Linked DNA regions of Homo sapiens: region 1 is linked to region 2. Evidence: promoter capture Hi-C in 16 types of primary human blood cells and fetal thymus (Javierre and others, 2016). All regions are on one chromosome and are shown on one strand. Each heading gives the region's core, a stretch centred on a gene start or on the middle of the fragment in contact. The rest is flanking DNA. Distances are from core to core; before and after follow the strand shown. Region 1 holds the start of CORO7 (coronin 7). Region 2 holds the start of UBALD1 (UBA like domain containing 1).

The links. The method cuts DNA at HindIII sites, captures the fragments that hold promoters and counts their contacts. A CHiCAGO score of 5 or more calls a contact.
Region 1: a contact is called between the fragment with the promoter of CORO7 here and the fragment with the promoter of UBALD1 in region 2, in 2 of 17 cell types (neutrophils and fetal thymus). The highest score is 8.5, in neutrophils.

The regions. Positions count from the first base shown.
Region 1 is chr16:4,413,955-4,419,487 of GRCh38, reverse strand. It overlaps CORO7 (coronin 7), which reads left to right and starts at 2,892. Exons shown (of 28, transcript NM_024535.5): 1 at 2,892-3,029. The coding sequence starts at 2,970. CORO7-PAM16 (CORO7-PAM16 readthrough) reads left to right here and starts at 2,892. Exons shown (of 31, transcript NM_001201479.2): 1 at 2,892-3,029. The coding sequence starts at 2,970. It overlaps LOC124903635 (a long non-coding RNA gene), which reads left to right. Exons shown (of 3, transcript XR_007064963.1): 3 at 2,527-2,763. The HindIII fragment of the contact is 33,533 bases long and covers 1-5,533 here.
Region 2 is chr16:4,612,704-4,618,132 of GRCh38, reverse strand. It overlaps UBALD1 (UBA like domain containing 1), which reads left to right and starts at 3,245. Exons shown (of 3, transcript NM_145253.3): 1 at 3,245-3,455. The coding sequence starts at 3,336. RefSeq lists silencers at 1,512-1,741, 2,985-3,224, 3,565-3,664, 3,705-3,814, 3,895-4,064 and enhancers at 1,792-2,051, 1,889-2,460, 2,461-3,033. The HindIII fragment of the contact is 13,740 bases long and covers 1-4,655 here.

The DNA of each region.
Region 1 (5,533 bases), core at 1,643-4,142, 200 kb after region 2:
CTCACGCTTGTAATCCTAGCACTTTGGGAGGCCGAGGTGGGCAGACAGCCTGAGCTCAGGAGTTTGAGACCAGCCTGGGCAACATGGCGAAATCCCATATCTACTAAAAATTCAAAAATTAGCCAGGCATGGTGGTATGCACCTGTAATCCCAGCTACTCGGGAGGCTGAGGTAGGAAAATCACTTTAATCCAGGAGACAGGTTATGGTGAGCTGAGATCACACCATTGCACTGCCTTGGCAACAGAGACTTTATCTCAAAAAAAAAAAAAAAAAAAAGGAGAAACAAATGTTACTTGCAAAGGGAACACAAAGTCGTAAGCGTTTCCCCCTCCACACTTTCATTTCACTAGACCAGCAATTCCACAGAGCACTTTCCCCATCTCCTGAGCTGTGGATATCTGTGAGAGCTGCGAAGGGGTTTAATGGTGCTCCCCGACAGTGCTGGGCTGAAGGCAATGGGAGACAAGACGGTCTCTGTGATTTCTTGCTGAAACCACTGATCATTTGAAGTATAATGGGACTGGCCAAGTTCATGGCTGCCAATGGCTGCAACTCTCCCATGTGAGCTCAGAGATCTTTTACAGAGGGCAGAAGAGCCTGAGCCCAGCTCTTCAGGGGCATGATTTGTCTTAAGTATAGCATTTTCTTTACTTCACACAGAGTATAGGACAATTCCAAGTGGGTGAGGAATGTGTGGTCCAGATGTTCTGGTCTGTGATGTCTGTAGCAGGTGCAGTTCCCTATGAAAGGGGATGATGAGCTGTGCCTCGGTCGCCTAGGATCCAGTGGGACCACTGTCCTGATGATTTTCTTTCTTTCTTTTTTTTTTTGAGACAAAATCTCGCTTTTGTCTCCCATACTGGAGTGCAATGGCATGATCTCGGCTCATTGCAACCTCCACCTCCCGGGTTCAAGTGATTCTCCTGCCACAGCCTCCCGAGTAGCTGGGATTACAGGCACCTGCCACCACGCCTTGTATTTTTAGTAGAGACGGGGTTTCACCATGGTGGCCAGGCTGGTCTTGAACTCCTGACCTCAGGTGATCCACCCACCTCGGCCTCCCAAAGTGCTGGGATTATAGGCGTGAGCCACCATGCCCAGCCACTTGATGATTTTCTTTTTTTTTCTTTTTTTTTTTTTTTTTGAGACAGAGTCTCGCCCTGTCACCCAAGCTGGAGTTCAATGGCACGATCTCGACTCACTGCAACCTCCGCCTCCCGGGTTCAAGCAGTTCTCTGCCTCAGCCTCCCAAGTAGCTGGGATTACAAGCACCCACCACCACGCCCAGCTAATTTTTATATTTTTAGGACAGACAGGGTTTCACCATCTTGGCCAGGCTGGTCTTGAACTCCTGACCTGGTGATCCACCCACCTTGGCCTCCCAAAGTGCTGGGATTACAGGCGTGAGCTACCGCGCCCGGCCAACCTGATGATTTTCTAAAAACCTTTTTGGACTGGGCGCAGTGGCTTATGCCTCTAATCCCAGCACTTTGGGAGGCTGAGGCAGGTGGATCACTTGAGGTCAGGAGTTTGAGACCAGCCTGGCCAACATGGCAAAATCCCATCTCTACTAAAAATACAAAAATTAGGAGTAGTGGCGCACACCTGTAATCCCAGCTGCTTGGGAGGCTGAAGCAGGAGAATCGCTTGAACTCAGGAGGTGGAGGTTGCAGTGAGCTGAGATGACACCACTGCACTCCAGCCTGGGCAACAGAGTGAGACTCTGTCTCAAAACAAACAAACAAAAAGCCTTTTCAATAAACCACAAGTGACTTTGGTTCACAGTAAATACACTTCTGCCCGAACTAAGATAAAATGTAAGCATTGCTTTTCAAACCTTAGAAATGCAAGAATCAGCTGGGTGCGTTGGCTCATTCCTATAATCCCCACACTTTGGCAGGCCAAGTTGGGAGGACTGCTTGAGTCTCGTTCGAGACCAGCCTGACCATCATGGTGAAACCCCGTCTCTTACTAAAAATAAAAAATTAGTTGGGCGCGGTGGCAGGCGCCTGTAATCCCAGCTATTCGGGAGGCTGAGGCAAGAGAATTGCTTGAACCCGCGAGGCAGAGGGTGCAGTGAGCTGAGATCGCGCCACTGCACTCCAGCCTGGGTGACAGGGACTCCGTGTCAAATAAATGAATAAATACTAAAGAAAAATTAAAAGCTATTATTATTATTATTTTTAGAGGCAGGGTCTCTTTCTGTCTCCCAGGCTGGAGTGCAGTGGCACGGTCACAGATAACTGCAGCCTCGACCTCTTGGGCTCAAGGGATACTCCTGCCTCAGTCTCCCAAAGTTCGGGATTACAGACCTGAGCCACCGCGCCTGGCCGGATGCAGAGCGCCTGGCCGGATGCAGAGGCTTTTGAGTAGGCCCGGTGGACAGGGATTTGCTTTAGACCTGGGCCCCTGTTCCCCCTCTGCCTCTTACCACTGGTGTGACCTGGGGACCGACAGTTTACACTCTCCTTTAGCCGGGGGTTTCCTGTCTCTGAAATGGAGCTAATTTCTCCCCTCTCTACAGGAAGAGGTAGATAGTGCTGGAAGGCGTGCTAGGTACACCGCAAAGACTCCACAGCAAATCCTGCACACAAAATCGCGAATGCTGCAGCCGAGACCCCACGCAAGCAAGCACCGCAGGAGACGTGGGCTGACAGCTGCGCCCCACGTGACCTCCCACCCGCGCCAGTCCGTCCCCTCGGTATCAGGGCGTGGCCTCGCGGGGCGGCCGTACCTGGATTGGCCGGGAGGCGGGACCGGTGGTGCGCGCGCGAAAGGAGAGGGGCTTGGGGGCGTGGCCCAGGGGGCCGGAGACGGCTGCGATTGGCAGTGGGGCGCGCCGGGGGCGTGACCGCGGCATTGGGTCCCGGGTGGGGCCGAGGCAGCGGGAGTCGCGGTTGCTCAGCGTGCACCTGAGACCCGACGCCCGGGGTCCTCGAAGACGCGTCCGCCGCCGTGCCCGTCGCCATGAACCGCTTCAGGGTGTCCAAGTTCCGGCACACCGAGGCTCGGCCGCCCCGCCGCGAGGTGAGTCCGGCCCGAGGACCGGGCGCTGTCGCCTCGGGCCCCGTCCGGCTGCCCCTCCCCCTGCCCGGACCCCACAGGGGTGCCCTCCAGGGCCGTCTGGAACCCCGAGACCTCCATCCCCGGGGAACCCCCCTTCAGGCCAGGGCCCCGGCGTCCGGGCCGTTTCGTCGCCGCCGGAGGGCAGAGTCCGGCACTCCCGTGACTCGCTCTGGCGCTCGGTGACCCTGGCGGTCTGCCCGCCTCGCCCACCTCGCCCCGGGACCCCCGAGGCGGCGCAGCCCTCCTAGCCGGGGCCCAGGCCTGCGAGGCCGCCTGCCTTCCCAGCTTCCGGTCGGCCTCGCCGGGAGCCGGGGCTCGGGGCGCTGCCGGCGCCTGGCTCCTCCTCCCTGCCGCCCCGGGTCGCCCCTGCCCCTGGCTGGGCTGTGGGGAGACGCCCCTCTCTCCTCTGGCCCCGGCGAGCCCAAGTGTGTCAGTGGTGGGGAGGGAGCCCCTCGGCCGCACGCGCCCCTCCCTCGGGTTTCCGCCGGTGCTTCCTCCTCTCGCCGCTGGCGCAAGCTCTTTCTTTATCTCGGTGATGCTGCCACGGCTGGGTGGGGCCTGGGGAAGCCTGAGCAGGTGGAGCCCCAAAGAATTGCTGAGCCAGGTGCCGGGAGACCCTTCGGACCCCCGAAACGGCAGGAGGACTGATGAGGGGTGCGCCTTGGAAACGATGTCAGCTCTGCTCTTCCGCTTTCCGTGTTATTTGTAAGGCCTGGGAGTGTCCTCCGATAACTGGGCCTAGGAGTTGACCTCAAGTGACCCCATCAGGGTCCCAGAGCAAGTCAGGGCAGTCTGGGTAGAGGTTCCGTTTTTGTAGTGTGGACTATATTTCCTCTGCTTCCACTTTATGCTGTGCTAAGCTGCTGGAGACATCCCGGTGAACACAACGGCATTTTCCTTCCCCTGTGGCACTTGTAGCCTCATGAGGGAGACAGCAAGCAGACAAACAAGAGCATTGGAGGTTTTCATAACGACATTGAAGAACACACATGAGGGACTGGGATGGAGAATGGAGGGGGCCAGTCTCAGTAGCGTGGTCAGGAAAGGCTGCCTGGAGTAGATGGCATTTTAGCTGAGGCCAGAAGGGTGAGAATTGAGAAAGAGCCTGGTGGAGAAATGGAAAGTGAGCATGAGTGGATGGAGGGGATGGCCGGAGCAGTATGGTGACAGATGAGTCCAGAGTGGTCCTGCAGAACCCAAGGGCCACCGGAAGAAGTTGGGTTTTATTCTGATTGCAGTGCAGAGCCATTGAAAAGTTAGGGGGAGGGGCTGGATACCATGACTCACGGTAATCCCAGTACTTTGGGTGGACTGCTTTGAGCTCAGGAGTTCGAGACCAGCCTGGGCAACATTGCGAAACCCCTCTGAACAACAAGTTAAAGAAAAAAAAATTAGCCAGGTGTGGTGACTCACTCCCGTGGTCCCAGCTACTTGGGAGGCTGAGGTTGGAGGATCTCTTGAGCCGAGGAAGTGGAGGTTGCAGTGAGCCGAGATTGTGCCACTACACACCAGCCTGGGCAATAGAGTGAGACACTGTCTCAAAAAAAGAAAAAAACAAACAAGAAAAGTTAGGAGGAGGTACCTAGGTTTGCATCAAGACAGCCGGTGGCTCTGAGTGCAGTTAAGTACTGCTTGGAGGGGTCTGGAGAATACTTGAGGGGCCCTAATTCTTGCTCCTGGGTGGGCCTTAGTCCAGCAACATAAACAGATAGGCATGGAACTACAGACTGTAGGGAGAGCTTAAAACAGTTTATGTTAGGGAGGCGGGAGAACAGGTGATCTGTTCTTTTCAGAGATATTTGCAGTCACTGTGTTTATACAGTAAACATGAATCAGGAGGGAGAAATAATAGGGTGGGACTGATGCTGTAACCATGGCAGGTGAACACTGATATAGAAACTTCAGGTGGTGGAGGTGGTTTCCGGGGTGCTATGGGTGGGTGGAGTGGGAAACATGGGTGTCCTGTCATCGAGGGCAGGAAGGAGTGCTGAGCGGTGCTTTGACAACAGAGAAAATGTGTGGACCTTGCAGATCTTAGTTTCAGAAACGTGCTCCTCTGCCTCCCCTTGGGTGGGGGTGTTTCTTTTACTGACTTATGAGACTTTGTGGAAAGGTGTGTCCTGATGAGGCCAGGCCTTGGTGGTTCCCCTCTCTGAGCTTGGGTGTTTTTCTCCGGGTACTTGGAGGAGGCCTGGCCACATTTTGCATTTTCTTTTTTTTTTTTTTTTTGAGATGGAGTCTCGCTCTGTTGCCCAGGCAGGAGTGCAGTGGCATGATCTCGGCTCACTGCAACTTCCGCCTCCCAGGTTCAAGTGATTCTCCTCCCTCAGCCTCCTGAGTAGCTGGAATTGTATGTAGGTGCCCGCCACCATGCCTGGATAATTTTTGTATTTTTAGTAGAGATAAGGTTTCACCATGTTGGCCAGGCTGGTTTCGAACTTCTGACCTCAGGATGATCTGTCTGC
Region 2 (5,429 bases), core at 1,996-4,495:
AGTTCCCCTACTGTCCTCCTCCCACCACCCAATGGGAGAGTCCTTGGTCAGGCTTGAGGGGCCCGGGTAGGAGCCGCAGCTTGAGGCAATTCCCTCCATTCCATCCAATTCCGAAGGCAGGGCAGACTCCCCTGGAACCAGACACATCAAGAACGTCGCCTAGTTCAGACCGGAGCTCTCCACCACCATCTGATCCCAGCACAGCCACAGCCACAGTGATCCCAACGTGTCCAAGGGATCAGATCTGTTTACACATTTCAGTATCCCCTAACTCACCCCCAGGGCCAGTGCCGGCCTCCCTAGGGCATTTTTTATTTTTTGGAGACAGGATCTTGCGCTGTTCCCCAGGCACAATCACGGCTCACTGCAGCCTCTGACTTCCCAGGCTCAAGCAATCCTCCTACCTCAATCTGTAGCTGGGACTCCAGAATTTTTTTTTTTTTCTTGAGACAGTCTTGCTCTGTCGTCTAGGCTGGAATGCAATGGCGCGATCTCAGCTCACTGCAGCCTCCGCCTCCTGAGTTCAAGCAATTCTCCTGCCTCAGCTTCCCCAGTAGCTGGCACTACAGGCGTGTGCCACCATGTCCGGCTAATTTTTGTATTTTTAGTAGAGACGGTTTGACCAGGCTGGTCTGGAACTCCTAACCTCAAGGGATCTGCCCGCCTCGGCCTCCCAAAGCGCTAGGATTACAAGCGTGAGCCACGGCGCCCGGCCAATTTTTTTTATTTTTTATTTTTTGTAGAGACGAGGGTCTCACTATGTTGCCCAGACTGGTCGCAAACTCCTGGACTCTAGTGATCCGCGCCCATCTCGGCCTCCTAAAGTGTTGAGATTACTTACAGGTGTGAGCCATGGAACCCAGCTAATTCTCTGTTTTTTTGTTGTTGCTTTGTTTTTTGGTTTTTTTTTTTGAGACAGAGTCTTGCTCTGTGGCCCAGGCTGCAGGGCAGTGGCGCGATCGCGGCTCACTGCAACCTCCGCCTCCTGGGTTCAAGCGATTCTCCTGCCTCAGCTTCTGGAGTAGCTGGGATTACAGGCGACTGCCACCACGCCCGGCTAGTGTTTGTATTTTTAGTAGAGAACGGGTTTCGCCGTTTTGGTCAGGCTGGTCTCGAATTCCTGACCTCAGGTGATCCGCCAGCCTCGGCCTCCCAAAGTGCTGGGATTACAGGCGTGAGCCACTGCGCCCGACCCGAACTCAGCTAATTTTCTTAAAATGTAAATCTCTGTAGAGGCGTGTTCTCAAAGTCCTGGGCCTAGGCAATCCTCCCTCCTCGGACCCCGAGTAGGTGGGATTACAGGCCACCGCGCCAGCCCGGGAGGGCATTTTCCATCTTGCAAGGCTATACTCGTCCTCCGGGTTTCCGAAATTCGCTCCCAACCCCAGCCGTTCTCACAGCCCCCACCCGGCTATTGCTCTTCTGTCGCCCCACGCTAGGTCAGGGCCAGGAAAAGAGGAAAGACTCAACAAATAGTGTCTCAACGAAGGAGGCTGGGGCCAGGGGGCGCAAGGAGCCGGACCAAGGTCACCTAGAGCTGCTATGATCGCGCCTTACCGCCCCCGGGCGCTCGAAGCGGGCTAAAGCCTCACTAGCTGTCAGCAACGTCAACCGGAAGCGCCATGTGCCGGTCTGTAAACACCGCCCGGTCGCCCCGCCCCCGGCTCCGCCCCCGGCCTCCCCGGCCCAGCGCCCGCCCCCGCCGCCTCTTCATTGGGCGACCAGCTTTGTTTACCTTATATGGCCAGGTCCTAACACCCCGAGGCTGTCCATTGGTCGAGGCACGACCTCACTCAGCTGACGTCACCGGGACCAAACGATGCAAATAAACCGAGGCATTCTGGGAAAGGGAGTTTGGGGCCGCTCCGGAACTGGCTCTGCCGGGCCTTGGCGCCCGCCCGCTAAGGGCCGAGATTTCCGGCAAAGAGCACGAGATTTTGCGTGGGAAAGCGGGAGAACTGCTGGGAGGGGGACCCCGAAGCACCAGAGGCTGCTGGCCCCGCCAGCCTGTCCCAGGCGCCGTCCAGAGGGTCATGGGGCTACAGTGGGGCAGGCCCAGAGCCAGGCTAGGAAGGACCCATGCCACGAGTGGGCGATGAGAGATTGAGTGAGGAGAGCTAGGAGGCTAGCTATAGGCGGTGACGTGCGGCGGAGCTTTTAAGTGGCTCATTCATTCATTCACTGAACGAGTATTTGTCGGCGCCTACAGTGTGCCGGGCCTTTCAGCCTAGACCAGCCGATTTGGGCCAAAATTCCTAGAGACCCCTCTCTTAAGGGCGTGCCTACTATTTAACACAGAGCGATGCCAATCACAGAGGGGTTCAGGGTCCCTAGGTCTTAGCAAAGACGCCTGTGGCCCGGCGTTTGCGCCCATGCACAGATCTGTATGCCCCACCTTGGGACCCCAATTCGTGCCAGAGCAGGGGCACGGGTGCCACCGAGAGCAATGAGGGCGACATGGACGTGCCTGGCTCTGGTCACGGTCTGGACAGCTGCGCACAGTAGGCACTTAGCGTTCAGTCACAGTCCCCGGGGCATGGCAAAGACGTCTGTGGCCTGGCGTTTGCGCCCATGCACAGATCTGTGGCCCCGGCCTCTGGGCTCCTAATTCCCGCCAGAGCAGGGGCGTGGGTGCCACCGAGAGCAACGAGGGCGACGTGGACGTGACTGGCTCTGGTCCCAGCTCAGGCGCCTGCACACATTAGGCACTCAGTTTTCAGACACCGTTCCTGGGCCTTGGCAAAAACGCCTATGCACGAACCTGAGGCCCCCGCCTGCGGACCTCCATCCGTGCCAGAGCAGGGGCCGGGTGCCACCCAGAGCAACGAGGGCGACGTGGACTCCCCCAACCCTGGTCACGGCCCGGGCATCCACACACAGTAGGCGCTCACAGTTCAGACACGGTCCCCAGGCCTTGGCCAAGATCCTGTGGTCAGGCATTTGCGCCCATGCACAGACGTGGCCCCCGCCAGCGGACCCCCATCCGTGCCAGAGCAGGGGCACGGGTGCCACCGAGAGCAACGAGGACGACGTGGACGCGCCCGGCTCGGGTTACGGCCCGGACATCCGCACAGCGGGCGCTCGGTGCTCAGACACGCCCCTTCCCGGGCTTCGCGTCCCCTAGGGTGCCGGCCCCGCTCCCCCGGGGCGCCCGGCGCACCGTGGGGACTACATATCCCAGCATGCCGCGGCGCCGGCGGAGCGAGGCGAGGCGCGGTGAGTCAGAGCCGCACAGTAAATATTTGTATTAGCCGGAGCCGGCTCGCTAATGGTGGACGCGTGAGGCGGAGGCGCGGGCGGAGGAGGGAGGCCGGAGCGGGCAGCGCGGCGGCGCCATGTCCGTGAACATGGACGAGCTCAAGCACCAGGTCATGATCAACCAGTTCGTGCTGACGGCGGGCTGCGCGGCCGACCAGGCGAAGCAACTGCTGCAGGCGGCCCACTGGCAGTTCGAGGTGCGCGGCGCCGGAGCCGGGCGAGGGCCGGGGCCACGGGCGGAGTGTGTCCCGCGTGGCCGCCGGGCGGGGGCGGACGGCGTGGACGCGTGCCGGCTGTGCGCCCCCTCCGGGCCGCAGACCCGACCCGCTTTCCCGACGGCGGTGCCCGGCGTCCGGATCCCAAGGGCTCGCGGCGGGCGGAGGTGGGAACCGGGCCACCGGTCGGGGATACGCCGCCCCCGCGGGGCCGCGAGTCCCCCGGGATCGAGACGGGGACCCCCCCCACCCCTTTTGTCCGGGTAACGGCCGAGGGCCGGGCGGCCCCGCGGTGCAGACGGACAGTCGGGCGGGCGGCCGGAAGGAGGACGCCCCAGGCCTCGGCAGAGCTGGGCCGGAGGGCGGAGCCGCTCCGGGCGAGTGGTCCGAGGGTCCGCGTGCCTGGTGGGCGGTCGGCGGCGTGCGCACACGTCCATGTGCATTTGTGTTTACGCACGCACCGCGCCACGGCGTCGGCCGGGCACCGGGGAGGTGGCGGACCTGCGGGCACGTTGGCGCGCGTGTGAACGCGCAGCCCCCTGGTGCGTTTGGTGTGTGATCAACGCGTACACATGTGGCGGGTGTGCAGATGCCGCCCGTGCCCGGCACGGTGTGATGTGTGTACACGGCCTGGAGTGTAGGGGTGGCGTGTCGGAGCCCCACACTACACCACAGGGATGAGCGTGTATCCCCTTCAGAGGTGTGCCTGGGGACTCCGTGTGCGCGACTAGGTGCTCTCCTGGGGCTGGCAGGGGCATCTGTCCCTTTACCGGTGCAATGGGGAGGGTGCACACGGTTCACCAGCTTTCGGGCTAGCTGGGTAGGAGGTGATGCTGCCCCGGTCTGGCACCCACTCCCCCGGGCCTCTCCTAACCCATAGGACAGTAGTGCTCCTGGCTTGTGCTGCCCAGAGGCTACCTGGCTTTCCCTAATTCACCGACCCCAGGATTAACCCCATGGTGGTTGGTATCAGGGGATGAGGCCAGAGCCCTTTGAGCTGTGCCCCTCACAGGGGTAGGGTCATGGCCTCAGCCATCCCGGTACCATCTGTGCCCAGCCGGGGACTGGGAACCTGGTTTCTCCATGAGGAGCCATCCCAGGGCCTGCAGGAGGGACTAGAAGCCAGAGGACTCTGAGGCTCCGCTTCCTGGGGACTGCAGGGGGATCAGAATGTCCCAAGCTTGGGACAGTCTGGGAAGGCAGTGGCCATCCCATCCAGATGAGTACATCCCTCTCTCCTTGCCTACTTCCCTCCTACCAGCCGTCGCGGAGGCCACTGATCCTGTGTGGTGTTCACCCCAGGACGTGGGAGGCTGCTCTGTCCCTCTGGCCTTAGTTTCCACATCTGTATGGTGGGGTTGGGGGGCATGAGTCAGCTTCTGTTGGCCAGCTTACTGCCCCCTGTGCCCCAAGGCAGCCCCACCCGGAGGAAGCTCCCTGCTTCCCTCCTGGTCTCCACAGCCCTCATCAGCCCTGTTTGTGTCAGGGGCTGGATGTGGCAAAACTTGCAAAACCGCATTCATGGCAGTTACACATCTGCACGCAGGGTTCCCTCGCTGCCTGGGGCTGGGCAGGTAGGTGTCCGGTGGGAAGCGGGCCCTGCCTGCAGGACTCAGCCCAGCCCTCAAAACCTGGCACCCAGCTGGCACCCAGGCCACATCCCTCAGCGGCACAGTTAATTGAAAATGCAGCTTTGAGGAGTGCAATGTCTGGGGAAAGACTGTTCCCAGAGGGGCAGGAGCATCTGGGGCCTCTGGTGGCTCCCAGGGTCCCCATGGGAGGAGCCCTGTGCCCTCCACTCCCAAGTCTCAGTTGTGCCATCTGTAAAGTGGGGGCCGCCAGGGAGGCTGGAGGAAGGTGACGGGACTTCAGGCCTTGGAATGGGGCTGAGTGAGGGGTTCACATGGCCACCCCATCCCTCTCCACGCTCCACCCGCTGGCTGCATCCACCAGGCG